3 separate regions of the Homo sapiens genome follow, and regions 2 and 3 are each linked to region 1. The links are contacts of gene promoters, found by promoter capture Hi-C in blood cells and fetal thymus (Javierre and others, 2016). All regions are on one chromosome and are shown on one strand. The core of a region is centred on a gene start or on the middle of the fragment in contact, and the rest is flanking DNA. Distances in the headings are between cores, read along the strand shown.

Evidence for each region. The method cuts DNA at HindIII sites, captures the fragments that hold promoters and counts their contacts. A CHiCAGO score of 5 or more calls a contact.
Region 2: a contact is called between the fragment with the promoter of SENP1 here and the fragment with the promoter of ZNF641 in region 1, in 14 of 17 cell types (neutrophils, naive CD8 T cells, non-activated CD4 T cells and 11 more). The highest score is 14.7, in neutrophils.
Region 3: a contact is called between the fragment with the promoter of LALBA here and the fragment with the promoter of ZNF641 in region 1, in 16 of 17 cell types (total CD4 T cells, activated CD4 T cells, endothelial precursors and 13 more). The highest score is 14.4, in total CD4 T cells.

What each region holds. Positions count from the first base shown.
Region 1 is chr12:48,347,780-48,352,949 of GRCh38, forward strand. ZNF641 (zinc finger protein 641) reads right to left here and starts at 3,140. Exons shown (of 6, transcript NM_001172681.2): 1 at 3,007-3,140; 2 at 128-336. The coding sequence starts at 311. RefSeq lists enhancers at 2,651-2,720, 3,159-3,895 and silencers at 2,861-3,290, 3,571-3,650. The HindIII fragment of the contact is 6,093 bases long and covers 506-5,170 here.
Region 2 is chr12:48,103,462-48,108,631 of GRCh38, forward strand. SENP1 (SUMO specific peptidase 1) reads right to left here and starts at 2,618. Exons shown (of 18, transcript NM_001267594.2): 1 at 2,567-2,618. It also overlaps a transcript of PFKM not described here. RefSeq lists enhancers at 1,615-2,490, 1,996-2,205, 2,491-3,364 and a silencer at 2,346-2,485. The HindIII fragment of the contact is 3,654 bases long and covers 1-3,355 here.
Region 3 is chr12:48,567,448-48,572,617 of GRCh38, forward strand. It overlaps LALBA (lactalbumin alpha), which reads right to left and starts at 2,599. Exons shown (of 4, transcript NM_002289.3): 1 at 2,441-2,599; 2 at 1,635-1,793; 3 at 1,070-1,145; 4 at 237-570. The coding sequence starts at 2,573. The coding sequence ends at 510. The HindIII fragment of the contact is 2,055 bases long and covers 1,694-3,748 here.

The DNA of each region.
Region 1 (5,170 bases), core at 1,890-4,389:
AATGGGCTGGTCCTGGTACAGGTTATGCTATTTAGTCCATGGCAATTTGGAGATTTTTAACCCTACTTTTGGAATAAATATTAGGAGACTATGCACTGTGCTTCCCACACACTCTGTGAGTTCTCACCCTTCTCCTGAAGGGACTGTGGCTCCTCTTCAAGGTCACAGCACAGGTGCTCCAGAGGTCCTGGTACTGTTCTCCATGGCCGCTCTTCCTGGCTTCCCCTTTCCACCTGGGGCTCTGCTCCATCCAGCTGTACATTCATTGATTCCCATCCTGTCCCCAGCGCTGCTGTCTGTTCTGAAAGCATTTCTGCTGCAGACCCAAATTGTGACCTGGAACAAATTCATATCAGCAATGCCCATGAAAATGGGAAAGGAGTGATATTTCTAAGGGAGTTATGAAGAACAGGCCCAGGGATAATAGACAAAACTAGATAGGAGGAGCTTGCTGGAAGATGAACTTTAAAAGCTTGATGTGTTCCGATCAACGGAGCCTGCACCAAGCTTCTTGGAGGAACTAAGAAATTGGCAGGTGCTACGTAGCAAAGCCACTAACTGGTATTTTGTGGACCTCATTATAGAAACAGAATATACCTGAAGGTTAGAAGAAGTTCATTTAAAAAAAAAGAACTGTCCTGGAAATTCAAAGGCTATCCATTTAATTTCAAGCACATGAAGTACAGGAAAGTAAGCAATTTGGAAACATACAGGAAGAAATACATATAGACCTGCACTCAACAAGATGGATGTAATCACACAGAAGATTTTCTGCCACAAATCACAGTCTCATCAGTTTAGAATGAAATGATTACTATAGGTAAAAGTCCCAACCAAGGGGCGTATTTGTATCATGAGGCTGGGCCAAAAGGTACCTCACTTGGGACAAGCCTCAATAAAAAGGCACTTGGTCTACCATCCAATGAAAACTGGTAGTAAATATGGTAGAAAAACTGATAACTTGGAAAGCAGGTGTTAAGACTCCAAAGTAATCCTAAGAGGTAAGAGAAATTGTTGGTCTGTGAGGAGCTGAAGTTTAATCAGGAAAAGTAAAAAGGAACAGAAAGAGTTTGAACCAGAGCTGGAAAAGGGGGGAAGAACTGCTGCTAACATGACCCAGAAGAACAAACCTGTTTATTTGTCAGGCACCAGTCAGATCTCATTAGAAAAATATATTCAGTTTGAAAGAAGCGTATGGTGAAGCCAGTGTGTGTTCATCAGAAAACATCAAAGTCAAGAAAGGGATTGGAAATACAGCCACTGGGAAAGTTAAAAATGTCGGATGTAGTTTTCTCTGTCTGGAGAAGAAGGCTGATGAATGATGCTACTAATGAATAAAAACAGAGGTCCCTTCTATCTCTATATAGGTCAAACAGAAAAAAATGGGTCTTGATTGCAAGAGAAGAGATTTAGGTTATTTTTTTTTAATTCTTAATAATCCTGCAGTGTACAATACCAGATAGTGGGCTCTTCTTTTTCTTTAGACAACTTAAGAGCAGGATGGGTCACACTTCTGTTGTGATAGGGCTTTATGGCAGAGAAATAATCTGAGACTCAGAATCTCTTTCTGTTTGGCAACATATTTTGGGTATTCTTATTCAATATCCAAACAGTCAGAGTCAGTGAAAGGCTTCCAAGAGCAGTCAGAAACTTGGTAACTATCCTGGCTTACTTACATCCTTTCAATAACACTTGCAAGAACCTTGAAGGCCAGGGTAGGTAATCACAGATGTCAAGTCGTCTATTTTCTTGCCTATTTGTCTTTGACAAAAGAGGTAGGTGGGAACCCTAAGCCCAATGCACAGGAAAAACAAATTCCCTTTTTATCTCAGAAGTCCAAAGATGGCTCAGGGCCTCATGGGAGCACCCTGGACTGATTCCCAGCCTAGGAGGTTTCCTTTTCAGAGACTTTTCATGAGAAAGGAAAATTCTTGCTAAAGCAATAAAGGGAAACTTCCATTTTAGCTCTCTTCTCTGAATTCCAGCTCTGTATCCACTTTTAACACACAGGGCACTAATTCTCCCTCTTCGTCCCATCTTTCTGGTTCTCTAGCTCCTGTGCAAATCCTCCCTGAAGGCTTTACCTCTAGCTACATATCTGGACACTTGTCTCAAACCCTTTCTCCATCTCCCCCAGGTAGCAGAGTCTCTTAATGGGAAGCCTCTTTGTGCAGAGCCCATTGGGCCAGCTGTAAGTTTTTCTATACCACTGACAGAAATCCGTGGAAGTGCTAGCAAAAATCTCAGCAAAGGATGGGATGGGTACCTGTCCTCAGCTTGCATTTCCTAAGATATTCACGCAGAGCCAGCACCTGGGCGGTTAAGGTGGTAGCCCTAACCTCGTTTCTCCTGGTTCCAGGATGATCCCATGCCCACTGCAGTGTGGGTTCTAGGGCTTTCATTTCCCCCTTTTCTTCACACATATGGGTAGCAAGGGACCTGCAAAAGGAAGTTTCTGCAGCCAGTGCTGATGAACAGAAAAGGGGCCATGTTATAAAAATGAGTAGCCCAAGGGCACACGGACGAGTTGGCTCCGTCCATCAGAGAACCCTGGCCCCTGCCACGGGTAGGGCATGGGCGGGACGGGAGCCTGCTCAGGGGTAAGGTTGCTTCTTCCCTTCTTCTTGTCACAGTGCCCCTGGAAAGGGTCAGATTTCAGAGAATCCGAGCAAGGCAGAACTGGAGCAGGGGAAGTGAGGTCAGAAAACAGGTTTCCCATGAGCTGGGGCATGAGCAAGTGAAGAGAAAGGGAGCCACGGGGTAACCTGTGCGCGAGTGACAGCGGCGGGAGCCCGCAGGGCCTGACAGTTGCGATGGGCACGGGGAGACAGGGCGAGAGGCGGGCACAGAATGTCAGCGGGGCAGACCCCCGGGAAAGGCAGCAACCCGGAAGACGCGCCGATCCTCCTCCCAGCCCCTATGGGTGACCGAGCCCCCACCAGCCGCCCCGGGAAGCCAGGCGTCCCTCCCTCCAGCCGCAGCTCCCTCCGGCCCGGCTCCACTCACCCCCGGTAGGCTTGGCCCGCGGCCCGGTGCCTCCCTCCCGGGCGCCGCCTGCCCCTCCCCTCCGCCCTCCGCTTGCGTCTGGGAGCCGGCGGCCGGCGGAGCCAGCGACAGGCGGAGACGGCGGCCCGGCAGGCGCGGGCGGGGCGGGGCGGGCACAGGAAATCCCCGCCCGCTTCCGGGGCTCTGCGGCGGCGGAGGTGCGGGGAGTGGGAGGGAGAGGAGTGGGAGGGAGAGGAGTGGGAGGGAGGGAGGGAGGGAGGGACGGGAGGGGGCGGGGCTGCGGCTCAGGCGCCCCCAAACGCGAACCCGGGACCTCCGCGCCCGCCGCTGTGGGGAGGGTGCGGCCCGAGACGCTTGGAGGGCGGCGGGCGCCGGAATCGCAGCCTGCTGTGGCCACTTGCCCGCACTCTTGCCTGACTGACCATTTTCCGCTCTGGCTACTGGGCCTCCCACGGAGTTCTGTCCTCAGGGTTCGTCAATTACCTGGAATTGCGTAACCGCCCGTTACAGGCCAGACCGAGGCCGAGAGCGATTTCTCCAGACAACAGTCTGGAATTCCTCAAGGAGCGTACCCTCTAGTTTTCACGATAGGATAAAGGGCTTGAGAGAGCACTGAGGAGGAGTCACTTATTCTGCCTGAGGGGAAGTCAGGTTGCTATCTGAAGTTGGCCTTGCGGCTGCTGTCCCATTTGCGGGAGCCGTAGCCGCAGGTGACACCTGAGCTCTCGAAATGTGGCTGGTCTGAATAGAGATGTGTTCCAAGATTTAGAAGATTTAATTTAAAAAGTGATATTTTGGGTATATTGGGTTAAATATATTAAAATTAATTTCACCTGGTTTTAACTTTTTAAATGTGGCTATAAATATGGCTTGCATTATATTTCTATTGGATAGTGCTACCTTGCAGCATTAAGATGGATTTGACTAGAAAAGATGAGAAGGGCCTACAAACAGTGAGTAAACCCATTGCTGTTAGAATCTGTTTATAACCTACAAGTCACATTCACATTCCTTATTTCATCATTACAACAATTTTCAAAAATTTTATTTAGTAGACTTAAAAAATAATTGACTCACTTAAGGTCATATGTGACAATCATTCGTTTAATGCATATTTATTTTCTACGTGTGCCAGACACTGTAACTAAATGCTGGGAGTTAAAGGATTCACAGTCTGGGGAAGCACATGTCAACAAATATTTGCAATAAAAACGTAGATTCTAAAACAGAGGAACGTACGCTGCACTTGAAGCAAAGAGAAGTGACCACGTATGGGACGGAGGTCAGAGAAGGCCCCCCACTCTGACAGAAATCGTGAGGCAGAGAAGAGTCAGGAGGGCTGTCTAATGAAAGAGGAAAATGCAGTAGACACGCAGTTGGGAAGAGTATAGAGCATATTCTAGGAGCAGATCATGGGATATGTCGGGGTAGTAGTAGAGCCAGAATTTTTATCCCGGGTCCTGGAACTAAGTCCAGGGGTTCTTTTCACTTATGCTACCACTGGTGGTAAATATAAGGTGCGTTAATTGGAGTAGGCTAGCAAAACCAGTATCTCGGGGCTTAACTCCATAAAGGCTTATGTTCATACAAGTCACAGTGTGGTAACAAGTTGGTTGGGGCCAGAGGGTGGGGTCTGTACTTCTTGAATTCATTGAAGGACCAGGCTTCTTGCATTTGGTGGTTCTCCCATGCCGAGGCCTTGGTAATGTAGTCAAATCTGTGGCCCTCAGATAAGGGAGGCTGGCCGTGGTTAACTTGTCAGAGATATTAGGGGCCAGTCCTGGAAGTGGTGTGTATCATTTTCACCCCATTCCCTTAGCCAGAACTCATGCGCATGGTCACATGGCCCTACCCAGAAGGGTGGCTGGGAAGTAAAGAATGTGTGCCTCATGGAAAAGGAAATGGGCGCTGCTGGACACAGCATTGCCTCGTCACACAGAGTTAAATTGAACATAACCAAGTACGTAAACCTGACTTTACCTGAAAAGAATGTTTGGAAAGAACTGATAGATATTATAATAGCCCAAACTCTCCTCGACTGTTTTGGGAAACAAATCAGTGTGAGATTGTTTCCAAAAAATAAAAAAAGCCAGGTGCAGTGTCTCATGCCTGTAATCCCAGCACTTTGGGAGGTAGAGGCGGGCGGATCACAAGGTCAGGAGTT
Region 2 (5,170 bases), core at 1,368-3,867, 240 kb before region 1:
CTGATTTATAATTTTAAATAATTAAAACCCCACATTTATATTTTACTACAAATACATCCAGCTACTTCAGTGTGCTTATGGTACATTCTTTTAGCCACTTGCAGTTACATTGGGAGAAGGAATATTTTACCCCAAGATTCTCCATGAAAATGTTGGATCTGGAACCTCTGATGCCACCAAATTCAAGCAACTGTAAAAATGTTTTCTTTTTAAAAAAAATGATTCTAATAATTCATTTCCTAGTATACACTGGTCATGTAATTTACTGAAAGAACATAAGCTGTTACAGACATTCAGATGAAGTCAGGTTAGTAGTGGAACACAAGATAATGGGAAACCTGAAAGAACAAAAAAGATCACAGTCTTGACAACTGCGGTGAAACACTTATAACCTTACATATATGCAAAAAGGGGATTATGAAAGACAATGTCTAGGGCTGCAAGGAAGTTACTAGAAAATATATATTGAGGCTGGGCACGGTGGCTCACACCTGTAATCCCAGAACTTTGGGAGGCCGAGGTGGGCAGATCACGAGGTCAGCAGTTCAAGACCGGCCTGGCTAACATGGTGAAACCCTGTCTCTACGAAAAATACAAAAATTAGCCAGGTATGGTGGCAGGCACCCATAATCCCAGCTACTCGGGAGGCTGAGGCAGGAGAATCGCTTGAACCCGGGAGGCGGAGGTTGCAGTGAGACAAGACCAAGCCATTGCACTCCAGCCTGGGTGACAGAGCGAGACTCTGTCTAAAAAAAGAAGAAAAAAATATATATAGAGAGAGAGAGAGAGAGAGACGGGGGGGGGGGGGGGGGCGGAGGGAGGGAGAGAGAGAGAGAGAGAGACGCAATGTTAGCTTTATCCAGGACCAAGATGTGGTTAGAACAATTTATGATATAAGAAGGGTGTGAAAGCAACCATGTGAAATCACCCTTTTCCAAGTTCTGAAAAACAATTATGTGTACAATAGTTTGTACTATATCGTCATGTGTTTGAGGTTCTTTCCTTCTATTTTTACATGTAATCTCTCCCAATCACTCTAACACCTTAAATACCTTAACACTCTAACGCCGTAAACCCTAAGTGTTCAAATTCTTTCATACACATTCATTTACTGTGCACCGACTACGTGCATTAAGAAAGGGTCCCTGCCACTGAGCAGCTCACTGTCCAGTAGGGAAAGCCAGATCCATAAACAGGTACCGCAAGACAGTAGAGCTGGTACAACTGATAGAAGATGTAGAAGTTGGGAAGAAAAGGACAAGAGTTCCAAAGCCGCAATGCAAGTCAACAACTGCATTCCCTTAGCCAGAAGTAGCAGAACCTGTTTTTGTACCCATCCACTCCCTCTAGACAACTCATTAGATGAGTGACATGAAGACCATCTTTGCAGTTGGGATAATTAATTGAAGTCAGTTAAAAATGAATAAGCCTTCCTAAAAGGGACTAGAGAGGAAAAATAAAGGGTGGTAGAGTGTAAACTGGAAGTAGGTTAAGGGATCATGCTTATAGAGATGCTTAAAGTTGCGCTTTAACTGTAATTTCAAAGTCAGGGTAATCTGTATTTCAACATGAGTCCTTAACACAAATTATTTTTATGAAGAATAAAGATTTAGGAGATGATGAGATCTAATACATCCAGAATAACCAATTATAACAAAGACCCTCAGTCAAATAGTTGGTAGTAGATAAAAGGCTTTATATGAATATTACAAGAATCACCACCACTCCAAATATAATAAGTGTACCAAATATGAAGTAAAATGACTTTAACAAGGCTGACTTGAAAGTGATAAAGAAGCAAGTTACTGCTAACAAGATAGTGGAAATACTGCACAGGCACCGATAAACAGAAATCACCAAGCTCAAGGAAAGAGAAACGAGGCATAGATCCAGAGATCACGTTAGGGTACACCAAGAAAGAGACGGTTCAAGGGAATTACCAGGAGGCGATGAGCCAGGTAAGCAAATTGTGGCAGTTAAGGGGATTTTCATAACCTGAGCAGGAGGGTCCAGACGTTTCTTTCTGATGGTGGCACTAGCGATATCACATCTCAGGGAGATACCACAGAGTAGGAGAGTTGGAGAAATGTTTACGTGAGACGCAGAAGTAGTCAAGAAATATCACTCGGGTCTCAAGGAAGGCGGGAGATGAAGCCGGTACCACAGAAAGCCGAGCTTCCCGGTGAAAACAGCTCTCCCCAGAGAAGACCCAGCTCTGGCGGGAAAGCCCCGGAATCGCAACCGGCCTTTCCCCAAGTACGGCTGGGCGCTGGGATGGGGCCTGCTGTAACGGCAGGGAGACGGTCTCTCCGCGGCCCAGGAGAGAGAGACCAGAAGGAACGGCCTCAGGTAGCCTAACGGCCACCGGCGGCCACAGCGCGGCCACCGGACAGCAGGGGGGAGGGGAGGTGGTCCCAGGGGGCGGGGCAGAGGAAAAGGCGCCGGCCCCACAGTGCTCCCCGCTTCCGCCCAGTCCAGCCCGGGCCGGCTGACCGGGTCCGACACAGTCTCCTGGACCAGGCTCCCTCCATCCTCACCCCTCCCCCAGCTTCCCGCCGCCACTCACCGAACCGGAACCGGCTGCCATGCGAAGGGGTTTCCGGCCGGGCGCGGAACGCAAAACCCGGGAACCGCCGCGAACCGGAACCGCCTTCACAGCACCGGAAGAGTCGCTAGGTGGCTGAAGAGGAGGGGGCTGGGGCAGGAGGTCAAAGAACAGAGTTAAGGACCAGTGGGGCGCCTGCGCGGTGTGGCGAGGCCCGAGAAGCGAAGGGAGCATTTAAGACTAGTCGTAATTTCTCAGTACCCTTTTCAGTCTGGGCTTTTTCGCTTTCTCGTACTCGGAATACTGTTAGTGAGCCCTTCGTCCTATGCTTTTCTCTGTTCCCTCTGCTCCCTTACCCGCCGCCTTCTGGTTCCGCCCGGCGAGTTTTGCTTGCTTGCGTTCCAGTTTCCATGGCAGCTTTTCGCGGTGGCCCTAAATCTGCGGAAACCTGTGGCTTCCCCCGACAGATAGGGACCTGAGATCTAAATCGATCTCAGGCTATCTCGTGTTTTATTGAGAATCACAGAACGTTAGTGCTTGTAGAGGTTATTGGAGATACTTTAGTCTTACCAGGTTCAGAGAAGTGAAGTGATTTCCCAAAGGTTTTAAGTGCACGGCCCATCTAGGACTAGGAAACAAGTTTCTTAACTTGCAATCCTGTACTCTGCACCACCTCATACTTGATTGACCATTCAGCAAGCAAACAAACAAACAAACAAGCAACTTGAGGACGGATTAGGCTAGACTCTGGCAAGATGTAGAACCTTCCAGAACTCTGGAGGAATTTGAAACAGGCAGAGCTGTGAGGAAAGCTTTTGGGAGCCCACTAGAGATCTGCTTTTCTGGGTAGAGATAGAGAAGGACCCAGGAATCACCTGTGACCTTTGAAGGGCTTTGTTGTTCCTGGGACACATTGATTAACCTGGAATCTGCCATACTTTCTAAGAGAACATAATGGGAAGAAATATGTTTGTTCATTCAGGCTTTTTGTCAAGCACCTCAGCTTGGCAGGCCTCTGGACCCAGGCCCTGTAGAAGTCTTAGAGAAATGCCCCCTTAATAGGTCCTTTACACCCAGATCACAGCCACAGGCACAGTCTGAGCTCAGACTTAAAGAAGGGCAGTTTCTGGAGGCCCCCAGCCTTTCTGATACTCTCAGCAGCTTGCTGAGTTCAGGGTTTCCTCCCCTGTCAAATACATCAAAGTAGATTATTTGTATTGCCTCATGTGCTGATACTTTTATATTATATTGTCAAGTCCTAAGGCCAAGTAGTCATGAGTGTAGCTGGTCCATGTCAGTCACTGACATCTTATTTCACAGCTCTGTTCGTTTGGATTAAACTCTGTCTCTATTTCTAGGAGGCAGCCATGCATAAAGACGAGTTTCATCTGAAATTTTTCATGTGTGTGATTCAGTCTCGCCAGTTAGTCAGGACTCCTCAGAGAACAGGTACCCTTGTCTCCTGATCATACTCCAGTGACAGAGAATGGGTTCTCTCACAAGAAGTCTAAATACAGGATGTGAGGCTTTCTAGTGTAAATACGGATTTTAGGGGTCAACTGACCTTGTTTATCACATTCTCACTTTGATAAAATATTGATCACTGAGTCGTGTATTTTCCAGGTAAGATTTTGACCTGGTTTGTTGTGATAGATGCCAGGCAGATAAGGAGGACTTGAGAGTTGAGGGGGGAACAAAATTTATCCCATGAGCTTGTCATTATTGTGTTGTTATGTGAATTACTTCGACCAGTCTGGGCTCATCTGTGGGAATCTTTATTGTCATTATAACTGACACTCCAAAACTATCAGATAAATCAAGCCCTAAGGAAAAATGGCCTTCTCATCCACCCCACCTCAAAGTATCTAGTTATATGTTCTGCTTTCCCCCATGTATGTCAAGGGAATAGAATCTTTTTGAGGTACATCGCGTCTCTAATTTTTCACTGGATTTTTGGAAAGAAAGCCCTGGACAGCTCAGAGTCATAGGGAAAATGAAAGGGAGTAAGGAACACTCCCTTCCCAGAATCCCACCTTGAGGGTGACCTAAAGCTATTGTTTCTCAGCTGGGGAAGCTTCTACTTCCAGCATGCTCATACCAAAGCCACCACCAAAGACAGACATCTTGAAGAGTCTAGATACTATGGATGATCCAGACACCGTGGGAAGCATACCTGTTTTCAAAACTGGTGAGGCATGTGGGTCAACAGTGAGAAATGTTCAAAGGAATATGGGAAAGTGAAAGTTGTATGCATAGTATTATAAATCAGCGTAGACCTACTAAAGCTGAAATATAAGACCCAAGGGGGAAAGTCTGTGTGTGTGTGAAACAGAGAGAGAGAGAAAGAGAGAGAGAAAGAGAAAGAGGGATGGGGAGGGAAAGGAAGAAGGGAGAGAGGTGGGGATGGATCATCTGGGAAATTGTAGGGAAACAGACACATCTCTATGCAGAATAACTTAATTTGGTCAATATTAAATCAATTGGCTCATAACTGTAAACTACTAATCTGGTTTATCCTATTGTCAGCATCCTTGATATATAAATATGTGAAACTTAAGAAAGTTGACTAAATGAGTTATTATTTTACAAAATGATTCTAAATATTGTAAAAAATTTTCATCTTAG
Region 3 (5,170 bases), core at 1,349-3,848, 220 kb after region 1:
CCCGGCCAGTGTTTAGCCAACTTTGGATCCGTCTACAGTTCCTTGAATAGATTAGGTGATCAATAAAAGTTTGTTGCATTGAGTTGGTACAGACAGTAACCTTCACCTTTCTATTGTAAATTCAGCCTACTTCTTCTTCAGTAGAGATGGAAGGTGGCTATGACCTATGGCTTCAGTGTCCACCTACTCATCCTATTTCTTCCCCTTCCCTCCAGGGGGAAAAAAATTACAGCCAGTGACTTCAAAGTGGGACCTTTATTCAAGACAGAGGTGAAATCTGTGCTGTAGTGAAAGTGCCATCGAAGGCACTGAGTAAGGGTCTAGAGCTCAGTGCACCACTCAGGCATCCCTGGAAAATAGTCTTCAAGAATTCGGTGATGTCACTACAGGGCCCAAGGCTCAGAGACAGATAAGCTTTGGGGGAACAGAAAGAAACAAACTGAGGTGGCATTAGGGAAGAGGTATTCCAGGAGTGTGGAGTGGGCAGGGGTGCCAAGGACAGCAGACACTCACAACTTCTCACAAAGCCACTGTTCCAGCTTCTCAGTGCAGAGGGCTTTATGGGCCAACCTGATAATGGAGAAGGGGGACAAGGTGAGTTAGCTGACTGAATCTTTACATTCATTCCCAGGAGGGCTGAAGTGGAAGAGCGTGGACGAGAATTACAGAAAGACATTCCTGGCCTGATGTCAAGCGACACAAGCCATCAAGTGGAATACAGTCCATAAAAAATATCCAAGAAAATTGTAGGGTTAAAAAAGAGATGCAATGTTACCAACAGCTTGCTTTAGGGCATAGAACTAAACAAGTGGAATTAGATGTCCAAGTCTAAGTGAAAGGAGGCCTGGGTCTGAGCCCTCCATTAGGCAACCCCTTATTAGGAAAATTGCTACCAAGGAGCGGAGCGAGAGAGGCTTAATAACAGAAACCTGAGTCTCTAGGTAAGCTTTGTTTCAGACACTGTATTCTAGATTAAATGACCAAGAGATAGGGTAAGAGGAAAGGGGTGCTGGGCTAATGGGGTAAGGAGAAGGAGGATGGGGAAATAGAAAATAGAATAAGGATTCACCAGTAGTCAATTCCTTTAATATCCAGGATCTTCTTGGCACACATTATGTCATCAGTAATGTCATCATCCAGGAACTCTGGCAGGAGTTACAGGGAAAGGATTGAGACAGCTGACAAGTATTACCCAGAAAGGCACTGAGTTCCCCTAACCCCTGGATCCAGTGGGTTCTCTAAACTCAAGGCTTGTGCCTGTTGTCTTTCTATATGAAAGGACCAATGTGGTAATGTCTAACCCTGGGTAGGGACTTCCTTCATTTCCCTGGGATATCTCTGGAGGAATCATCAGCTTCATCAACTGACTTACCCTGAAAATGCAGACAATCAGATTCCAAGACTCTCAGACAGCTCCGATTGTCTACCACTGAACCTCAAGGAACTGTCTGGGGATTTGATGACCATGAAAAATCCAAACAGCTTCTTACTCAGTACTGCCAATTCAAGTCCCACAATTTTTATAGAGCCCAGCCAAGGCAATGAAGCCTGAGGTCTGCTTGGCACTAAAAAGGAGATTATCCCAAGGGCAGGCCTCAGAAAAACAGAGAAAGAGGGTTATAGGGGCTACTCACTGTCACAGGAGATGTCACAGATGTTCCTTGACTGAGGGACCTGGCTGCTCTTGCACCAAAGCTTATTACTGATCTGGAAGAGTCCATATTCCGTGCTTTCATTGTTTTCAACTATGGCTTGTGTGTCATAACCACTGGTGTGAAACATGGTACAGATCACTGAGGGAAAGATGAGAAAGAGATACCACAGAGATGTACAGGATCTGCATAAAGGAGGAACTGTAATTCTCAGACAAAAATGCTTTCCAGCCAATCTCCAAAGATGGCAAAGCTCAGAGTTTCTTGATGAGATGGAGAATTCCAAAAAAAAATCAGACAATAAGAGAAAGAAAGGATAGGAAAATAAATGGGGCCAGGCATGATGGCTCACGCTTGTAATCCCAACACTTTGGGAGGCTGAGGAGGGCGGATCACCTGAGGTCAGAAGTTTGAGACCAGCCTGGCCAACATGGTGAAACCCTGTCTCTACAAAAAATACAAAATTAGCCAGGCATGGTGGTGGGTGCCTGTAATTCCAGCTACTTGGGAGGCTGAGGCAGGAGAATCACTTGAACCGAGGAGGCGGAGGTTGCAGTGAGCCGAGATTACACCATTGCACTCCAGTCTGGGCAACAAGAGCGAAACTCCACCTCAAAAATAAATAAATACATACATATATACATACATGAAATAAAAGAGTATGCAAATGAGCAGAAAAGAGGATGATTAGATAATTAAGTAAAAGTGGAGGGGCGAAGTGGAAGAAAGAGGGGATGGAGGAGAGAAGCGTATGAGGAATGGATGAAACACAGAGGCAGGGAACTCACATTCAGGCAAAGCGATGCCTCCATAACCATCTATGTCTTTCAGCAGCTGGGACAGCTCACATTTTGTGAATTGCTTGGCCAGGATGGCAGGGAACAGGATGCCCACCAGGAACAGAGGGACAAAGAACCTCATTTTGGCTACCCCCAAGAACCTGAAATGGAAGCATCACTCAGTTTCATTTATTTATATTCATGCAGAAAGCCTCAGGGGCTCTGGTACCAAGCCCTACATCTAGGAAGAGAATGAAGAGAGACTGGTCATGCCAAGACAGAAACGCTGAGCCTGCCAGCTTCCTTCCATAATTCACCCTACTTTTCCTTTCCCTCTCCCAGTATCTAGTCCATAGCAGGTATTGTTCTCTGGCCAGAAAGAGTTCAAACCATGATCCTGCTTCCCATTTGGCTTTGTTTAGCCCTTTGTTTCTTGTAGGGTTGGTTCTGGGAAGCACTGTCTCTGGTTACTTGAGGAACAAAGAAGGGCATGGGGGCAATATAAGAAGTGAGGCAATCAGAAAATACAATAAAGTTCTATACCGAGCTTCCCCCTTCCCCCCTAGAGACATGCAGAATGTGGAGAGGGGGTGTATGTCATCACATGCCACAGTCCCAGGATCAGAGCTGGCACTTGTCCAACCAATCCAGCCATGTAACAAGGCCCAGAATTAGTTCTTTAATATGGTAGCTCATGACTGAAGGCTCAGAAATAGGAATAGAATATGGGAACGTAGACTACAACAATCCGATATAACTTGGATCTTAAGACTTCCTACTTAAGGAAAATGCATAATTGAAAAGCCTGTATGAAAGCATCTAGGCCAGGCACAGTGGCTCACACCTGTAATCCCGGCATTTTGGGAGGCCGAGTCTGGTGGATCACTTGAGCCCAGGAGCTCGAGACCAGCCTGGGCAACATGGTAAAATCCCATCTCTACAAAAAAAATTAGCTGGGCATGGTGACATGTGCCTGTAGTCCCAGCTACTTGAGGGGCTGAGGCAGGAGGAACACTTGAGCACAGGAGGTCGAGGCTGCAGTGAGCCATGTTCACTCCACTGCACTCCATCCATCCTGGGAGACAAAGTGAGACCCTATCTTTAAAAAAAAAAAAAAAAAAAAAGAATCTAGCTATCCTACGAGCTATTATCAGATTCCCCACCCCTAACCACTCCTACCGTAAATAACCAAATACTACACTGGCATTGAGACATTACATAAATCTAAGACCAATAACTTGTAGACAACCTCAGAGTTGGCCACAGAAAGTGGGAAGGACCCAAGCCAGTGGAAAGATTGGACTTTAAGGCTGAACAAGCTTATGTCTGGAATCTCTATAAGGTCAGTGCCCCTGAGCAAGTAGAGTTGAGGATACTAGTTCTGAATAGCTCCTTTAATTTGCTGGCATGAAGCTTCATGTCATGGTGACAAGTAGCTCTTAGCTCCTTCATGCCACCATTCGTCTTCTTTGTCCTCATCTCTAAACCTGATTTCTTCTTCTTCTTCCTTTTTTTTTTTTTTTTTTGACCAAGTCTCACTCTGTTGCCCAGGCTGGAATGCAGTGGCGCGATCTTGGCTCACTGCAACCTCTGCCTCCCAGGCTCAAGTGATTCTCCTGCCTCAGCCTCCCGAGTAGCTGGGACTACAGGCACGTGTTACCATGCCCGGTTAATTTATGTATTTTTAGTAGAGACGGAGTTTCTGCATGTTGGCCAGGCTGGTCTCAAACTTCTGAGCTCAGGCAATTTGCCTGCCTGGGCCTCGGCCTCCCAAAGTGCTAGGATTACAGACAGGAGCCGCTGCGCTGTTTCTTATGTTTCAGGGAACATTTATCCCAACCAATCTATTTAAGACTTACATACTGAAGGTCTTCCATATCGTTATCTCCTACATGTATTCAGAGTCAGGGAAAAGTCCTCTCAGTTAAATCCTGTCTTCTGTACCATGGATAACCAGTATATGAAGTGGCATGAGTGAAGGGAATGTGGAGGATCTTGGTGTGCCAGAAGGGATGAGCAGAAAGTTCTGATAGCAAGAGATACATGTTCAGAAACACAACAGAAGTGGAGCCACTCCATTTCTCCGCATTCCACCCAGAGGCACTGCAAGGGTACACGACAGGAATGGGAATTCTATCACTCTAAGCTTTGTTGAGAATATGGCTGAGAGTGACCTTGAACCATGTGTGAGAGGGAAAGATAAGAAAAGCTAGTCCTGAGGACTAGTCCTTCCAATAGTGGAGTCTTGTGTAAAATGCCTCCTGCCCTAGGCTATTGACTAAGTACCTGTGATAGAGTAAAAGGGTGGGCCAGGGTCTCAAGAATCACAGGGGTTTTCTACACTTTCAGCCAAGTCAAGACCTAAGGCAGCTGCCTGCTTGCCTATCATTTGATTATACCTTGGCCCTTCCCTATAAGCAATAAAAATAAGCATACAGGTCAGGAATCACAACTAAGTGCAGAAAAGAAAATAAACATGTCTCCGGCAAAAGGAACCATTATTTCCCTATAAATGTTCTTAAAATAGGATACGTGGGGGTCATCTGAAAAAGAAGATAGAAAGTGTCTAATGGGAACAACTGCAAACATCCAGAGAAAGATGCAGCCTCTTGGAGATTGTCCAAAGGAGAACAATACACAATGATCGCAGCACTGAAAGAGGAAGTATGTGGAAAGACATTAAGCACAGCTCGTGGAAGAAAGCTCCTGCTCAACAATTCCTGTCCAGGAAGAAACCTC